3 separate regions of the Homo sapiens genome follow, and all the other regions are linked to region 1. The links are contacts of gene promoters, found by promoter capture Hi-C in blood cells and fetal thymus (Javierre and others, 2016). All regions are on one chromosome and are shown on one strand. Each heading gives the region's core, a stretch centred on a gene start or on the middle of the fragment in contact. The rest is flanking DNA. Distances are from core to core; before and after follow the strand shown. Region 1 holds the start of SLC25A3 (solute carrier family 25 member 3). Region 2 overlaps NUDT4 (nudix hydrolase 4). Region 3 holds the start of MRPL42 (mitochondrial ribosomal protein L42).

Region 1 (5,027 bases), core at 256-2,755:
TACATTAACGGCTTTTACAATTAAAGTCAAACTTCAAATTATTAACCACTGGTAAGAGCACACTTCAGAGTACAAACGAAACTCAGAAAGATCACTCGACATGTAAAAGGCTTGCAAACAACTTCAAAGTTTATCCCAGCCACTAACCAATACTATCCCCACTTAAGAACTCCTGTAACATAAAAACGGATACGCACAAATTCCTGCAGTCAAATACATTTAATACACAAATAATGTTAGCTTTAACTTTTAAACTGAACGACAGATAGTGTAAATAAGGACTCTATCCATACTAAAGACAACAGAAGCACATGAATGATTTAAAGAAAAAAATCTTTCGATTTTACAGGCACAAGGTAGATAACATTCTTAGGACTCCTACAATTCGGTTTTCAGGTTTCTCTGTATGTACATACTTCACTAGGATTTAAAACACACACAACTAAGTTAAAGCTGGGCCCAACCACCAAGAATCCCAAGAGATAATCACACCAAAGGGACGCCCACCAATTATCTCCTTTCTATTGCCTATGTAGGGCTGCAAGCTGCCTCCTCCAGTCGCACGAAAACAGGACATCTAGTTATCTCATATACAATTAAGTGCAAAAATGACTGACCTGGCGTCGACAAATATAAAACTTAGGAAAGGACTATTTTTAAGAAAACTAAGGGCAAATCAAAGGACAGGTAATATAGTTAGTAGAACTGTGGGTGGTCAGTAGTTTCGGGAGGAGAGTTTACCCAGTACTTAGTTTGCTGACCAAGCGAGCTCACGGCGGAGAAAGAGCTAGTCACGGCCTCTCTTCCCTCGGGCACACGGAGGTCACGAAGGGACACAGGGCCTCAGCGCTTCCACGCCCTTGAGGGAAGGCCAAGGATCTGACACCCGCCTATGGTGGAAAAGGCCGATACCCCAGGGCAAGCAACTGGGCGCCGTCCTACGGTGCAGCGGGCTGGACTCGTCCTTCCCTGTCCTCCAAGCCGGGTCCAGGCCTCAAAGGCTGGGCGGCCCACAAGTAGACCACACGACTGTATTGGGCAGGGTCTGATCTCACCTTCCACGGCGGCGGCTGCCAGGTTGCGAGGGCGGCGGGGCTGGCCCGTGGGCCCTGGGGAGCTGCTGCGGAGGTCCCCGAGACCATCGTGCACCAGCTGCAGATGTGGCGTGTTGAAGGGGTTCGCCCGCGCCAGGTGCGCCACGGACGAGAACATCTTTCTAGGGGAGGAGGGAGCGACGGTTAGAGGACAGGCAAGGCGCCGGTTAACGTTACCGGCGCCCTGGAACCCCAACCGGGGCCTTTTCCTTCCCGTCTCCACGCCCTTGAAGAGGTCACGGCGGCCTTCGAAAGAGGCTGCTCCCGGCTGGGCCCACCGCCAAAGCAGCGGCCCCACAGGAGCTCTGGGCTCCGCTCCCCACACCCGCCACAGGAGAAGGCCCGGCCACACTCACTCCCTAAGATGGCGATCACACAACCACTCCCTTGGAAAGGTTGCGGCTCACAGAGGCCGGACGTCCTCCGGGTCCTAAGATGTGTGCCCTTCGCGCGTCGTCGGCGTGACGCACACAGCGCGCCACTGCAAGTACGCGTCGCCCATTGGTGGAGAAGAGCGCCGAGCCCGTAGCGTCATCGCGTTCTCCTAGCAACCTTATTCCCGCCCCTGCCCGCCCCAGCTCTTCCGCCCGGCTTGTGCGCGGGAGGATTCGTTCTGCGCAGGCGCGCGTTCCGGGTCTATATTTTTTGAGAGGGGTCGGGCTCGAGCTCTTACCCTGCTCGCTTTGTCCCTTCACCTTCAGGTGTCTCTCCTTGACCACGGGCTTCAGTTCGCTTCACTTAAGTGAATCACAGTATCTAGTAGTCACTTAAAAAACAAAACAAAACGCGAATGCTTGATAATATATTTAGGTGTTGGAGTTACAACATCACTGCAGTACTTTGTGTCACAACTTCTGCCATTACAGTACTTTTTAAAATAAGTTCCATCCATTGACATTAAACATAGGTATGTCTGTATTTTTCATCAGACTCCTGGAGAATATTTTAAAAAGAAATGTGCAGCAAGAAGTCTTACGACAGCTTGCCGCGTTATCACAGTAATCTACAGAACACGTTGAAACATTGAACTCCTGAGATGTTACAGCGATGAACTACTGAAAGTGACTGATAGCAGATTGTGCGTGTGTGTGGTTAATACATTTAGGAAGCTTTCATTAGATTCAGCTCAACAGGGAGGGGCGTAGTTTAGTTGGGGAGAGTTTAATAGGGATTCAACCTGTTAGACTTCTGACTCTTATATTTTCCAAGCTCTTGACAAAGTAACCTTGGGAATTTACTTCATCTCTGTGTACCTGTTCCCTAGATGTAAGATAGGGGTGGGACTGGCCTCATAGGTTCACACTGGTACAGTCACACATGGCCTTACACTTCATTTAATGCTCTGCTGTCATTTTGATTTTTTTTTTTTTTCTTTTGAGATGGAGTCTTGCTCTGTCGCCCAGGCTGGAGTGCAGTGGGGCGATCTCAGCTCACCGCAACCTCCGCCTCCCGGGTTCAAGCGATTCTCCTGTCTCAGCCCCCGGAGTAGCTGGGACTACAGGCGTGCACAACCACGCCCGGCTAAGTTTTCTATTTTTAGTAGAGACAGAGTTTCGTCACGTTGGCCAGTCTGGTCTCGAACTCCTGAGCTCAGGTGATCCGCCCACCTCGGCCTCCCAATGTGCTGGGATTACAGGCCTGAGCCACCATGCCCGGCTTGAAATTCTTAATACATGTATGAACAAGGGGCCACGCTTTTTTTAGTTTGCACTGGACCCTGCAAATCAGGTGTCTGGTTCTGGATGGGAGTAATACTTACCTTGCAGAGTCTATGAGAACTCAATGAGATAATGTCTAAAAGTCTACAGAAGATGTTACCTAAAAAAAGTTAGCATTGGCCGGGCGAGGTGGCTCACGCCTGTAATCCCAGCACTTTGGGAGGCCGAGGCGGGCAGATCACGGGGTCAGGAGATCGAGACCATCCTGGCTAACACGGTGAAACCCCGTCTCTACTAAAAATACAAAAAATTAGCCGGGCGAGGTGGCGGGCGCCTGTAGTCCCAGCTACTGAGGAGACTGAGGCAGGAGAATGGCGTGAACCCAGGAGGCAGAGCTTGCAGTGAGCCGAGATCATGCCACTGCACTCCAGCCTGGGCGACAGAGCAAGACTCCGTCTCAAAAAAAAAAAAAAACAAAAAAACAAAAGTTAGCATTGAGGCTGCGGCATCACGGCACTCTCTAAGCAACCCTATCCCAGACCCAGCCCTTCTGGCCCAACTAAAGTCCTACAGTCCCAGGAAGAATTCCAGAGTGGAGGGCACAGGAAGGGAAGTAGTGACAGATAAAGTTAAAAAAGTACACTAGCACCTGATTGTCCAGGGCCTCACATACCAGACTGAGGAGTCTGATCTTATGTAGACAGAGGTAGTCACTGAAGGGTCTGGACTTTCTCTCTCTCTTTTTTGGTTAATTCAACTTTATGGTGCTTTTCTAATTTAAAAATCCTTTGTCATGAAAAAGTCAAATATTATGTAAAAATATATGACTGTAGTGAATCTTCCTATTCCCTTCCCCCAGCACCGGGTAATACCGTGACCCTTTGCTGCACATTTTTTCAGCTGGAACAGCTGGTACCCTTCACCATGGGGCTGCACATGCTCGTGGCCCAGAACTCACAGAAGTTGATCTAGAAGATACAGTGGTAACTGAAGGAGCTGCAGGCCCAGCTCCTACCCCATGTGGGAGCTGGTGACCTTCAGAATGTAATGACTGTTGCTCCACTTCTGCCTTCCAAACTGCACACATTTCTCTTATAGCTAGCCCTAACCCAAAACTATGCAGGGAAAGGAATCTAGGAAATGTGGTTCTAGCCTAGCTAAGTTGACATGGTAAAAAAAACACCACTGGGCTTTGCAGGCACCGCTGCTGCCAGGAGCCCTGTGCTATCAGCCATGGTCAACCCCACCGTGTTCTTTGACACGGAGCCCTTGGGCCGCATCTCCTTTGAGCTGTTTGCAGACAAGTTTCCAAAGACAGCAGGAAACTTTCATGCTCTGAGCACTGGAGAGAAAGGATTTGGCTATAAGGGTTCCTGCTTTCACAGAATTGTTCCAGGGTTTATGTGTCAGGGTGGAGACTTCACATGCCATGATGGCACTGGTGGCAAGTCCATCTACAGGGAGAAATTTGATGACAAGAACTTCATCCGGAAGCATACAGTTTCTGGCATCTTGTCCATGGCAAATGCTGGACCCAACGCAAACAGTTCCCAGTTTTTCATCTGTGCTGCCAAGACTGAGTGGTTGGATGGCAAGCATGTGGTCTTCAGCAAGGTGAAAGAAGGCATGAATATTGTGGAGACCATGGAGTGCTTTGGGTCCAGGAATGGCAAGACCAGTAAGAAGATCACCATTGCTGACTGTGGGCAACTCTAATAAGTTTGACTTGTGTTTTATCTTAACCACCAGACCATTCCTTCTGTAGCTCAGGAGAGCACCCTCCACCCCATTTGCTCGCAGTATCCTAGAATCTTTGTGCTCTCACTGCAGTTCCCTTTGGGTTCTATGTTTTCCTTGTTCCTTTCCATGCCTAGCTAGATTGCAGAGTTAAGTTTATGATTATGAAATAAAAACTAATTAACAACAGCAACAAAAAAAGTACCAGAGTCTATCGGTTGTCAACATGGCATCAATGAACACCTCTTGTAATCATATTTAACTTCCAGACAAAAACTAAAGAGCAAAATCAGACTTCTACCTAACATGAAGCAGCTGTCCCTTGGACAATTGTGAACAAGCTAATTCTACCCAAAAGAGGATACAAAATCCTTTTATCCGTCTTTAGGTGATGTTATTGCAGCAGGTATGGACTAAGACAAGGGGGTTGGCCTCCTTAACATTCAAGAGGCTCTCGGCCTCCAACCTGACACAAGTAGGGAAATTGCCTGAAGGACCATAACTCTCCACTGTGGAGATTCAAATCTGCCTCCCGGGT
Region 2 (5,027 bases), core at 1,580-4,079, 5.2 Mb after region 1:
TAACTAAAATTTAAATACAAAATTCAACTAAAAATACAAAAATTAGCCAGGCGTGATGGCATGTGCCTGTAATCCCAGCTACTTGGAAGGCTGAGGCAGGAGAATGGCTTGAACCTGGGAGGCGGAGGTTGCAGTGAGCTGAGGTCACGCCTCTGCACTCCAGCCTGGGTGACAGAGTGAGACTCTTAAAAAAAAAAGAATAGTGTATTGACAGTAGTCAACAGGAAACCAACCCTAAATCTTATTGGATAAAAGTCTATGAATTAGAATGATCTATTGCAAGCCTGCTCAACCTGTGGCCCGTGGACTGCATGCAGTCCAAGATGGTTTTGAATGCAGCCAAACACAAATTTGTAAACTTTCTTAAAATATTATAAAATATTTTTGCAATTATTACTTTTTTAGCTTACCAGCTATCATTAATGTTAGTGTATTTTATGTGTGGCCCAAGACAATTCTTCCAATGAGGCCCAGTGAAGCTAAAAGATCGGACACCCCAGGCCAGGCACGGTGGCTCACGCCTGTAATCCCAGCACTTTGAGAGGCTGAGGTGGGCAGATCACGAGGTCAGGAGATCAAGACCATCCTGGCCAACATAGTGAAACGCCGTCTCTACTAAAAATACAAAAAATTAGCTGGGCGTGGTAGCACACGCCTGTAGTCTCAGCTACTCGGGAGGCTGAGGCAGGAGAATCGCTTGAATCCAGGAGGCAGAGTTTGCAGTGAGCTGAGATTGCACCACTGCACTCCAGCCTGGTGACAGAGCGAGAAAAAAAAAAAAGCTTGGGCACCCCTGATCTATTTTATAGAATCTATACCCTTTATCACCTGACGGGTCCTCCTCGCTGGTGATGTATAAAAGGGTGCTGTTCAAGGGCTATGTAATGCATTTATGCCTTCAGAGGCTGTAGGTCCTTGGGCCTCGAATTCCCATTTGTGTTTCAGCTTTTACCCTTAAAGATGCAATTGTCATGGCTTGGCTCTAGGAACTCCAACCACTATAGATACCACTTCTGTTCCCGGGAAGGGGAGCGGAGGAGCCATCCAGAGAACCTCAAGTGACCCCTAAGAATGAAGAGGTTTATTATGAAAATTGTAGCTATTCAGAAACTGTTTGTTGTTGTTGCTGTTTCTGAGACGCTGTCTCGCTCTGTCGCCCAGGCTGGAGTGCAGTGGCGCAATCTCAGCTCACTGAAAGCCCCGCCTCCTGGGTTCAAGGGATTCTCCTACCTCAGCCTCCGGAGTAGCCAGCACTACAGGCACACACCACCACGCCTGGCTAATTATTGTATTTTTAGTAGAGACGAGGTTTTGCCATGTTGCCCAGGCTGGTCTTGAACCCCTGACCTCAGGTGATCCACCCACCTTGGCCTCCCAAAGGGCTGGGATTACAGGCGTGAGCCACTGCACCTGGCCTACTCAGAAACTGTTTCGAGGTTGCTATTCTTTCTTTCCAAATTATCATAAATCAGGGTATCATGAATGGTTGAAACTACGTTAACCTAATTCTACTACACTTAACCAAAATTTAGCCAAAATTAGGCCAGCCGTGTTATTAGAAACACCCACTATGCACATAGACATTTTAAAAGAACATAGGTTATGAAAATGGTTTGATACATGCTAAACAGCTACCTACTATTAAGAAAATTAGTACTTCTTTTTGGACCAGAGGCAGAGTAGACCAGAAATAACAGTTCTTTCTTCTAAACTATGTTTAGCTCCAACTTATATGGGATTGGTAGATAAGTATTATCAATAATGTTGTAAATCAGGTTGACCATGGATTTTTTACCTAGCAGGTCAATGTTTTAAAGTGACGGGGTATAAGCTTTTTTTCAATTAGAGAAAAGCTTGAGCTATACCAAGACCCTAAGAAAAAAAAAAAAAATCCAATGCAAATTCTACGTTAATGCCTGGTTTAATGACGGGAAACCTTCTGGGAGAGCTGGAGGCACAGATGAAGAAGTTGGTGACACTTCCCTGTGTTTAAAAAAGGCTTCCAAGCCGGGTGCAGTGGCTCATGCCTGTAATCCCAGCACTTTGGGAGGCTGAGGTGGGTAAATCACAAGGTCAGGAGATCAAGACCATCCTGGCTAACACAGTGAAACCCCTTCTCTACTAAAAATACAAAAAATTAGCCAGGTATGGTGGCGGCTGCCTGTAGTCCCAGCTACTTGAGAATGGCGTGAACCTGGAAGGCGGAGCTTGCAGTAAGCTGACATCGCGCCACTGCACTCCAGCCTGGAGGACAGAGCGAGACTCTGTCTCAAAAAAAAAAAAAAAAAAAAGGCTACCTTTGGATAGTACTTATTTTTGATGAAAGTGGTCTCCATTTGAAAGAAATACCTTCAAGGACTTAACTCTGAAGAACTATGAGCCCCAGAGTATGTGTGAAAAGGGTGGACTGACTGTTGATTCTAAGTATAAAAATGCTAGTTGAGATTTAACTCTAGTAATATTTTGAATTAGTATTGTTGCTCATCGGAGCTCTGGTTTTAGGTTTTCAGACTTGACCTTTCCCACCAAAGCTTTACTGCATGATTTTGTACAGCTCAAGATTTTTCAGGAATATATATTCAGCATTATAGCAGACCATCTGTAGAAGACAGCCCCTGGCTCATAGAGCTTAAAAGCTAATTAGGGCAGCAAGTCCTATGGAAGAGTAGTGGTTTTTTTTGTTGTTTTTTTTTTTTTTTTTGCAGGCAGGGTCTTGCTCTGTTGCCCAGGCTGGAGTGCAATGGCATGATCTCGGCTCACTGCAGCCTCCACCTCCCAGGTTCAAGGGATTCTCATGCCTCAGCCTCCTGAGTAGCTGGGATTACAGGCACATGCCACCACGCCCGGCTGCTTTTTGTATTTTGTATTTTTGGTAGAGACAGGGTTTCGCCATGTTGGCCAGGCTGGTCTCAAACACTTGACTTCAGGTGATCTGCCCACCTCCGCCTCCCAAAGTGCTGGGATGACAGGCATGAGCCACCTGCCTGGCCTGTAGTGGTTAGTCCTTCAGACTGATTTGTTAATGCCTCTCTTGCAACTATGTCTGGATTTCACACAGGATCAAGTCATTCTACTTCTCCCCTTAGCAGTCTAAACCTATTTTGCTGCCAGATCACTCTCAAGCTTGAACACATCTACTATCTCAATGTTCTTTGTTCAAAACTAAGTTCAAAACAAAACTTTGTTCTTGCGTAGCAACTTCTCAACCTTACATTTGAAGTGTTGCAAATTTTTCAACTATTACTGATTCTATGCTATCCCTAAGCTGCAGCCAAATCTATCACAGCCCCAAGTCTTGCTCTATTTGGGACGCCTGGTCCCTCCTCTCCCAGTCACCCACATCCAACTCCAAATGACTCACATTGGATCTGAACCCCAGAATACCCGACCGCACTTTTCCCTTACTTTATTTCCCTTTCCATTGATCCCTTGTCCAACCTTTCCCTACAGAATGATTCTTAGGAGCTAAGACCTCATCTCTTCATCCCCTTTTAAACTATCATATATGCAAATACATTCAACAGAATCCATTTCTGATTACCTATTTGTAAAAGCATTGTCATCTTTCACTGTACAAGCACAGTACCCAGCTACTCTACAGGGCAATTAGCTGTGGGCCTGTCTAGAAGCCCAGCGGCCAAAACTGAGGGTGCTTCCCCACAGAAATAACTAGCTGGGGAGGTAGGTCAAATAAACAAAACATTTAGAAACAAAGGACCAGAGCTCAAAAGGATCTGCCAGCTTCTGTGACCTTGGGATAGGTTACTTCTGCTACCTAATTTCTTCCTAAACAAATACTAATACTTATTTACCCTACAGAACAGAAAAAGATAAAATGGAAAATATTTAATATATAAAGCCACCTTAAAAGAATAACTCTGCTCTTAGAACAACCTTCTTTCCTAGAACAATCTGTTTTAAAGTAGAAACTTACTGAGAACTTCAGTACAGGAACAGCCAGATGGGAGCGCCACGTAGCTTTTTTGGGGTCAAATTGCAATTACTCTTTTACTTCCATTTGTACTCTATATAAACATTTCATCCTCAAACAAAACATACATTTAAATCTTCTAACCAGGATCTAGGTGTTTTTCATCCAGTAGAGGGAAACATTTCTCACCTATTAACTAGAGAGGTGGGCTCAAGCTGGTTTTCTAGACTGTCCTGGGAAGTCTGGCAATGCAATTTCAACAGAGTGAAGGCAAATTCATAGAGAAACAATAGAATCTCCAGGAAAGCTAACAGAGTTTATTCTGTAATAATCATGTAATAGATAAAGCCTCAACTACACACAATCACAGAAATGAAAATTCTGAAGAGCTAAACCAGATGTTAAAATTGGCTGTGCATTTCACTTAAGGAGAATTCTAGAGTCTTCCCTCAGATCATATCCTCTAACAAGATGACTCACTCTCTTCAATTCTCAACCTACAGGTTATCAGATTTACAAAGTTTTATACAATGGATTTTTCTAATACATTCTCCAAAACTTGCTCCCTACTTCACCTTACCTAATGACACGGGTCTCTTGACTCAACTAGAGGCTATGAATTTAGTATTTATTTCAGTAGAAATAATATCCAAGCATAAAAATAATCATTTATTTTTATTGCTAAAGTAATTCCTAAAGCTTCTATCAGTCTTTGCTTTACCATAAGCACAATAGAGATCATCATTTCAATTTCCATCACTCATATTTTCCCCTAGAGTCTAGTATTTTTACAAAGCCTGAATTCCAAGTTCACATTATGGCAACACTTCAGTCACCACTTTCAGATAGGCTTCCAAACTTAGCCTCACAAAAATCTCACTCACTCAACAAACAGAGCCCAACATCAGGAGTAAGGACTGGACCCTGAATCCTGACTCTACCACTTCCTAATTGTGTCATTTGGGAAGGTACTTATGCTCTGCAACTGTCTCCTCACCTATAAAATGGGAGTAACTTCACTACCTCCCAGTGTTAAAAGGATTAAATGTATAACAAGTTTTCTTCTGGCAGCGCCTGGCACATTGTAAGCACTCAA
Region 3 (5,027 bases), core at 859-3,358, 5.1 Mb after region 1:
TCTTGCTATGTTGCCCAGGCTGGTCTCAAACCCCTGGCCTCAAGCAATCCTCCCACCTCAGCCTCCCAAAGTGCTGGGATTACAGGCATGAGACACCACATCTGACCTATCCATTCCCCTTCTGACTGACATTTAGGTTTTCTCCCACTTTCCATTGCTGCAAACACTCCTGCAAATTACAGGCATATACAATAACTAAATGCTTTAAATTTTCTTAATTCTTAAAAGTTTAAAAGTTTTTAAACATTAAAAAAAATTTCACTTACTTTGGACTGGAAATAAATGTTTCAAGATAGTTCTCTTTGACATCACCCATTTTACTGCAGCTACAGCCATGGTGTTTCAAGATGCTTATCAAGTGGTATGAAAAAAGATGTTCTGAAGAGAAACTGCTTTTAGAATCTGCTTCTAAGCATACCAATTTCTACTCCTGCTGAAGAGATAAAGAAAAATCAGTGCTACCTATGGTAAATTTAAGTTATATTAAACACCACAAGAACAAGGTAAGAATCACTGCCTAGAAGTCAACTGAAGCAATGCTTTTAAACAACTTGGCAATTCCACATGATTGAACAACAGGACGAAGAGCGACATGGACAGAATATAAGATCAGAACCACTGGAACTATGTCCATTACTATTTATCTTAGATACAAACTTCTCTGCAGGACCCAGTGCAGCTCCTTCCACTTAATGAATACTCAGTAAATGTGTAATTACTCTTGAAACAGTCACTCACAAATGGTACACAGAGTATTCATTCTTTTAATGCTAGTGTGGCTGTGTACACCCTCCAAGGTTCCATACACAAGATACTACATCATTTACAGTACTATCCTGTTTCTGATTAAATGAAATAGTTGTCTGCCCTGAGCCATTAATAATAATAATAATAATAAAGAAATATCAAACAAGGCCTATCCTTAGCCTATTACTCAATTGGAGGAACTCATAAATGCCCTCAAGTCCCAGATAAAATTTCACCATCTTATATGTGTACAAAGTCTTTAACTTTCCAACGTACTTTCACCACCATTTCATTTTGCTCTCGTATTAATCATGTGAGGTATCTTTATTCTGATTCATGAAGAAACTAAAGTACAAAATTTAAACGTCTTGCTTCCAAGGACTTTAGAGTCAGTCACTGCCAAATTGGGAAACTTTAAACAAGTCATTAACTAAACGATCCTCAGTTTCTCCAATGACAAAATGGGGAAAACCACAATCTTCATGGCCTGTTGTGAATAAATGACAAATAACCATTGTTAAATCTTGTTTTTAATAGTCTTCAATGAGTATCCGTGCCCTTCCCCCCAATAGTGATAAAAGAGAATTAGGACACAGGCCCTCTTATTTGCTAGTCTAAACCACTCACACTGATACCTTGCACTGCCAGTACATTAACACCGTTAACCCTGAGCTCATAGGTGTGCTTTTTAGTTTACAACCCACTTTCATATACAATATGTGCTCTGACTTTCACAAGTGTGTGAAGCAGCATCTCCATTTCAGATTAAGAACAAAGGCTCAGAGAGGTCAATCGATTACTTGCTCAGTATATCGCTGCTTAATACATGCGTGGGACGTAAACCCATGACTTCTGACCACGAATAAAACATCTTGGGGGAAATTAGGTCCCCTCTGTCCGAAGCCCAGAGAAAAGCACGCCCTGCTGGGAGTCAGATTATTCACCCCAGGAAGATCATTTCAGAGATCAAGTCCCTCAGCCCGGAATTCAACCCCAAAACAAAAGCTACAGAGCCTCTGAGGGTCAGAGGTTTGAGGAACAGGCTACCAAGAGCACCAGAACTCTTCGACCTAAAGGAGTCCCTAGAGCCACAAGCTGCATCACCTCCCCACGGGCGTCCGCCAGGGAACAAAGGGGGCGCTATAAGAAACGCGCAGCCACATGCCGGCTCTTCTGCAGGAAGGACAAAGGCTGGGGATGCAGGCAACCTCGCCCTGCCGGGAACGACAGGCGGGAGACCTCTACAACTGCCGACCAACACTGTGGGACTGCCCAGTTTCGAGGAAGTCCTCGACAGGAGGAGTAGAGGGAAGCGGTTACCTTGACGGCTTCTCACCACGAACCCGCCATCTTGTTTCAATCCTGGTCCCACGAAACAGCGCTGCGCGCGCCGTCCCAGCCCGCGGGGCATTCTGGGAAATGTAGTCTCCGCGGGAAAGCGGCCCGGGTGCAGAGAGAAAGGGAGGATTGTTGCTATGGACTTTTACCTTTAGTTGGGGAAGCGTGGCCGCAGTGTTACTAAGGTGCCCAGAAAAACAAAATCACTGCCCCAAACACATACCCTTAGAAAGTAACAAGCTTTTTTTTTTTTTTTTTTTTGTGAGGCAGTCTCATTCTGTCACCCAGACTGGAGTGCAATGGCTCCCTCACGGCTCACTGCAGCCTCTACCTCCTGGGCCCAAGAGAGCCTCCCACCTCAGCCTCCTGAGTAGCTGGTACTACAGGCGCACACCACCACACCCAGCTAATTTTTTAATATTTTTGTAGAGACGAGGTCTCGGTATGTTGCCCAGGCTTGTCTCAAGCAATCCTCCTGCCTCGGCGTCCCAAAGTGCTGGAATTACAGGCATGAGCCACCATGCAAACCTATAAGTACTTTTTAAAAAAATTATGTTAATATTCAGAGAAATCGTAGATTGCTCTTTAGTAGATGAGTTAAAGTTTCCCAGGGGAAGAGACATTCCAGAGAAGCCCTGAAATGTGGAGGCTAGGATTTGGACGTTTGAAATCAGAACCTGAAGAGAACCTCCACTCTGAAAACCTGGCACTGTGCCCTCAGAACTGTGCTGGCTACCTATTATGGGAGGAAGTAAATATGCAGAATCTTGGACCTCGCTTTCCATCTTAGGAGGAAGGAAAGACCTCTGGGCCTTTGCACTCTCTGTTCCCATTGCCAGCAATGTGCTTCTCTGACCTCTTCTCATGACCTTACAGGTCTTTCTCAAATATCATCTTAGAAAGGACCACACCATTAAAATAGCCTCACCCACCCTTATTCCATGCCCCGCTTTATTTTCCTTCAGAATATTTACCATTACCTGACTTTATATTGATTATTTGTTTGCTCGTTGAATGTCTCTTTCTTTTTTTTTTTTTTTTTGAGACGGAGTCTTGCTCTATCGCCCAGGCCGGAGTGCAGTGGCATGATCTCAGCTCACTGCAACCTCCGCCTCTCAGCTTCAAGCGATTCTCCTGCCTCAGCTTCCTAATTAGCTGGGATTACAGGTGGCCACCACCACGCCCAGCTAATTTCTGTATTTTTAGTAGAGATGGGGTTTCGCCATGTTTGCCCGGCTGATCTCGAACTCCTTACCTCAGGTGATATGCCCACCTCGGCCTCTCAAAGGGCTGGATTACAGGCGTGAGCCACCACACCCAACCTCGTTTAATGTCTCTTATGCTGGATAATGTAAGCTCCTTGAAGACAGAGACATATGTCTATCTTGTTCTTCACTGTATGCAAACCCAGCATCTCAGACTGTGCTTGGTCTCATTATAGGTCTCCAGGAAGTGTTTGCTGAATGAATGAAAAGACTAGATAACGCTGCAAGTATCCAAGACAGTAGATGATTGGCTGGTAAAGCAGAAGCGGTCGCCTGGAAATTCCCTTCTCCCATGATTTGCAAAATTTTGCTTTTGTATATTTTTCTAAGAAATAATCTATAGCTTTTATTATGTATTCCAGGGAATTGATAAACCCCTCAACAAGTTAAGAACCATATTCCTGAAGTGACTAGTATTGAAAGTAAGTGAACACACATCACATAGTAAAGAAAACTAAATACGGGCTGTGTAGTGTGTCTCCTCATTTCCCACGGAATATCAGGAGGCTAATCTTTGCTCTTATAGAAGCCCACAGAGGGCCCATCTGTGTCCTTTCCAGTCGTGTCCATCCTCCAAAGCCACCCATGATGTCTTTCTGGACTGTGCAATAGGAAGGGACAGAGAGGAGAAACAGATTTGAATGAGCAGTCAACTGGACTGGTTGAACATTCCCTGCGTAAAGTGTAAGAAGAATGGATCAAAGATAATTCCAGAGGTCAAGTCTTGATGGCTGTGAGCAGAGTGGGACCAGTCCCCAACAGGGAGACTCACTTAGTGGGACCAAGGAAGGTCTCACAAAGCTGAGACCAGAAAAGAAACCAACATTTTTGGGGGAAGAGAGGGGAGAGACAGGTTTAGGCTGAGTGAGGGAACAACTTACACAAAGGTTTAATGTGGTGGAAATAGCTTACCATATACTGGAGTAGGGTGGATAGTGTGGATGAGAGCGGCAGGAGATGAGATTTGGAGCCAGGTCATGTTGGGCTTCATAAGCCTTGGAGGGGTTAACATGGAGTTAGGACACAGGACATATGTAGAGATTAAATAGAGTAGGTGGTGCTGTGTGCCTGTAGTCCTAGTTACCCTGGGAATGGGAGGCTGAAGTGGGAGGATTGCTTGAGCCCAGGAGGTCAAGGCGGTAGTAAGCTATGATCGTGCCGTGCACTCCAGCCTGGGTGACAGAGTGAGCCCTGTCTCTTGAGATTTTTACATGAAAGAAGTGACATAATTTGATTTCCATTTTTAAAAGGTTACTCTGGCTGCCCTGGGAGGAGTGGTTTGGAGAGTGGCAAGACCGCAGGCAAGTCTAGCAAGGAAGCTACTGCAGTACTGCAGTCAAGAAATCATGTGATGGAGGGTGGTGGCAGTGGAGATGGAGAGACAGGAAGAGTCCAGATGTATTTTGAAATTGGAAGTGATGACTTAACTTGCTGATGGATTGATTGAGAGGGAGGAAGATACTTCAGGTGATGCTTTGATGACTAGTTGACAGTGGTGCCCTTCATAAGACAAGGAAGACTGAAAGAGGAACAGGTTTGGGGAGTCTGATGATGGTGGAAATGCATACTTCCGTTTGGGAGTTGTTGAGTTTGAGATGGCTCTGAGACACTCCAGTGGAGATACAAAACAAGTCAGCAGCCTGGGCAATATAGTGAGTGAGGCCTTGTCTCTACAAA

Evidence for each region. The method cuts DNA at HindIII sites, captures the fragments that hold promoters and counts their contacts. A CHiCAGO score of 5 or more calls a contact.
Region 2: a contact is called between a fragment that was not itself captured here and the fragment with the promoter of SLC25A3 in region 1, in 1 of 17 cell types (non-activated CD4 T cells). The highest score is 6.8, in non-activated CD4 T cells.
Region 3: a contact is called between the fragment with the promoter of MRPL42 here and the fragment with the promoter of SLC25A3 in region 1, in 2 of 17 cell types (total CD8 T cells and total CD4 T cells). The highest score is 9.8, in total CD8 T cells.

Annotation. Positions count from the first base shown.
Region 1 is chr12:98,590,164-98,595,190 of GRCh38, reverse strand. It overlaps SLC25A3 (solute carrier family 25 member 3), which reads right to left and starts at 1,505. Exons shown (of 8, transcript NM_002635.4): 1 at 1,451-1,505; 2 at 1,056-1,216. The coding sequence starts at 1,212. It also overlaps the pseudogene PPIAP8. RefSeq lists enhancers at 466-1,090, 1,414-1,513, 1,091-1,715, 1,764-1,983. The HindIII fragment of the contact is 3,126 bases long and covers 1-2,205 here.
Region 2 is chr12:93,379,939-93,384,965 of GRCh38, reverse strand. All of the region lies in intron 1 of NUDT4 (nudix hydrolase 4), which reads right to left. Among named protein-coding and RNA genes, the nearest start is that of NUDT4, 4.5 kb to the right of the region's middle. The HindIII fragment of the contact is 592 bases long and covers 2,534-3,125 here.
Region 3 is chr12:93,464,595-93,469,621 of GRCh38, reverse strand. It overlaps MRPL42 (mitochondrial ribosomal protein L42), which reads right to left and starts at 2,108. Exons shown (of 6, transcript NM_014050.4): 1 at 2,068-2,108; 2 at 267-430. The coding sequence starts at 336. RefSeq lists enhancers at 1,887-2,156, 2,217-2,276. The HindIII fragment of the contact is 2,939 bases long and covers 1-2,327 here.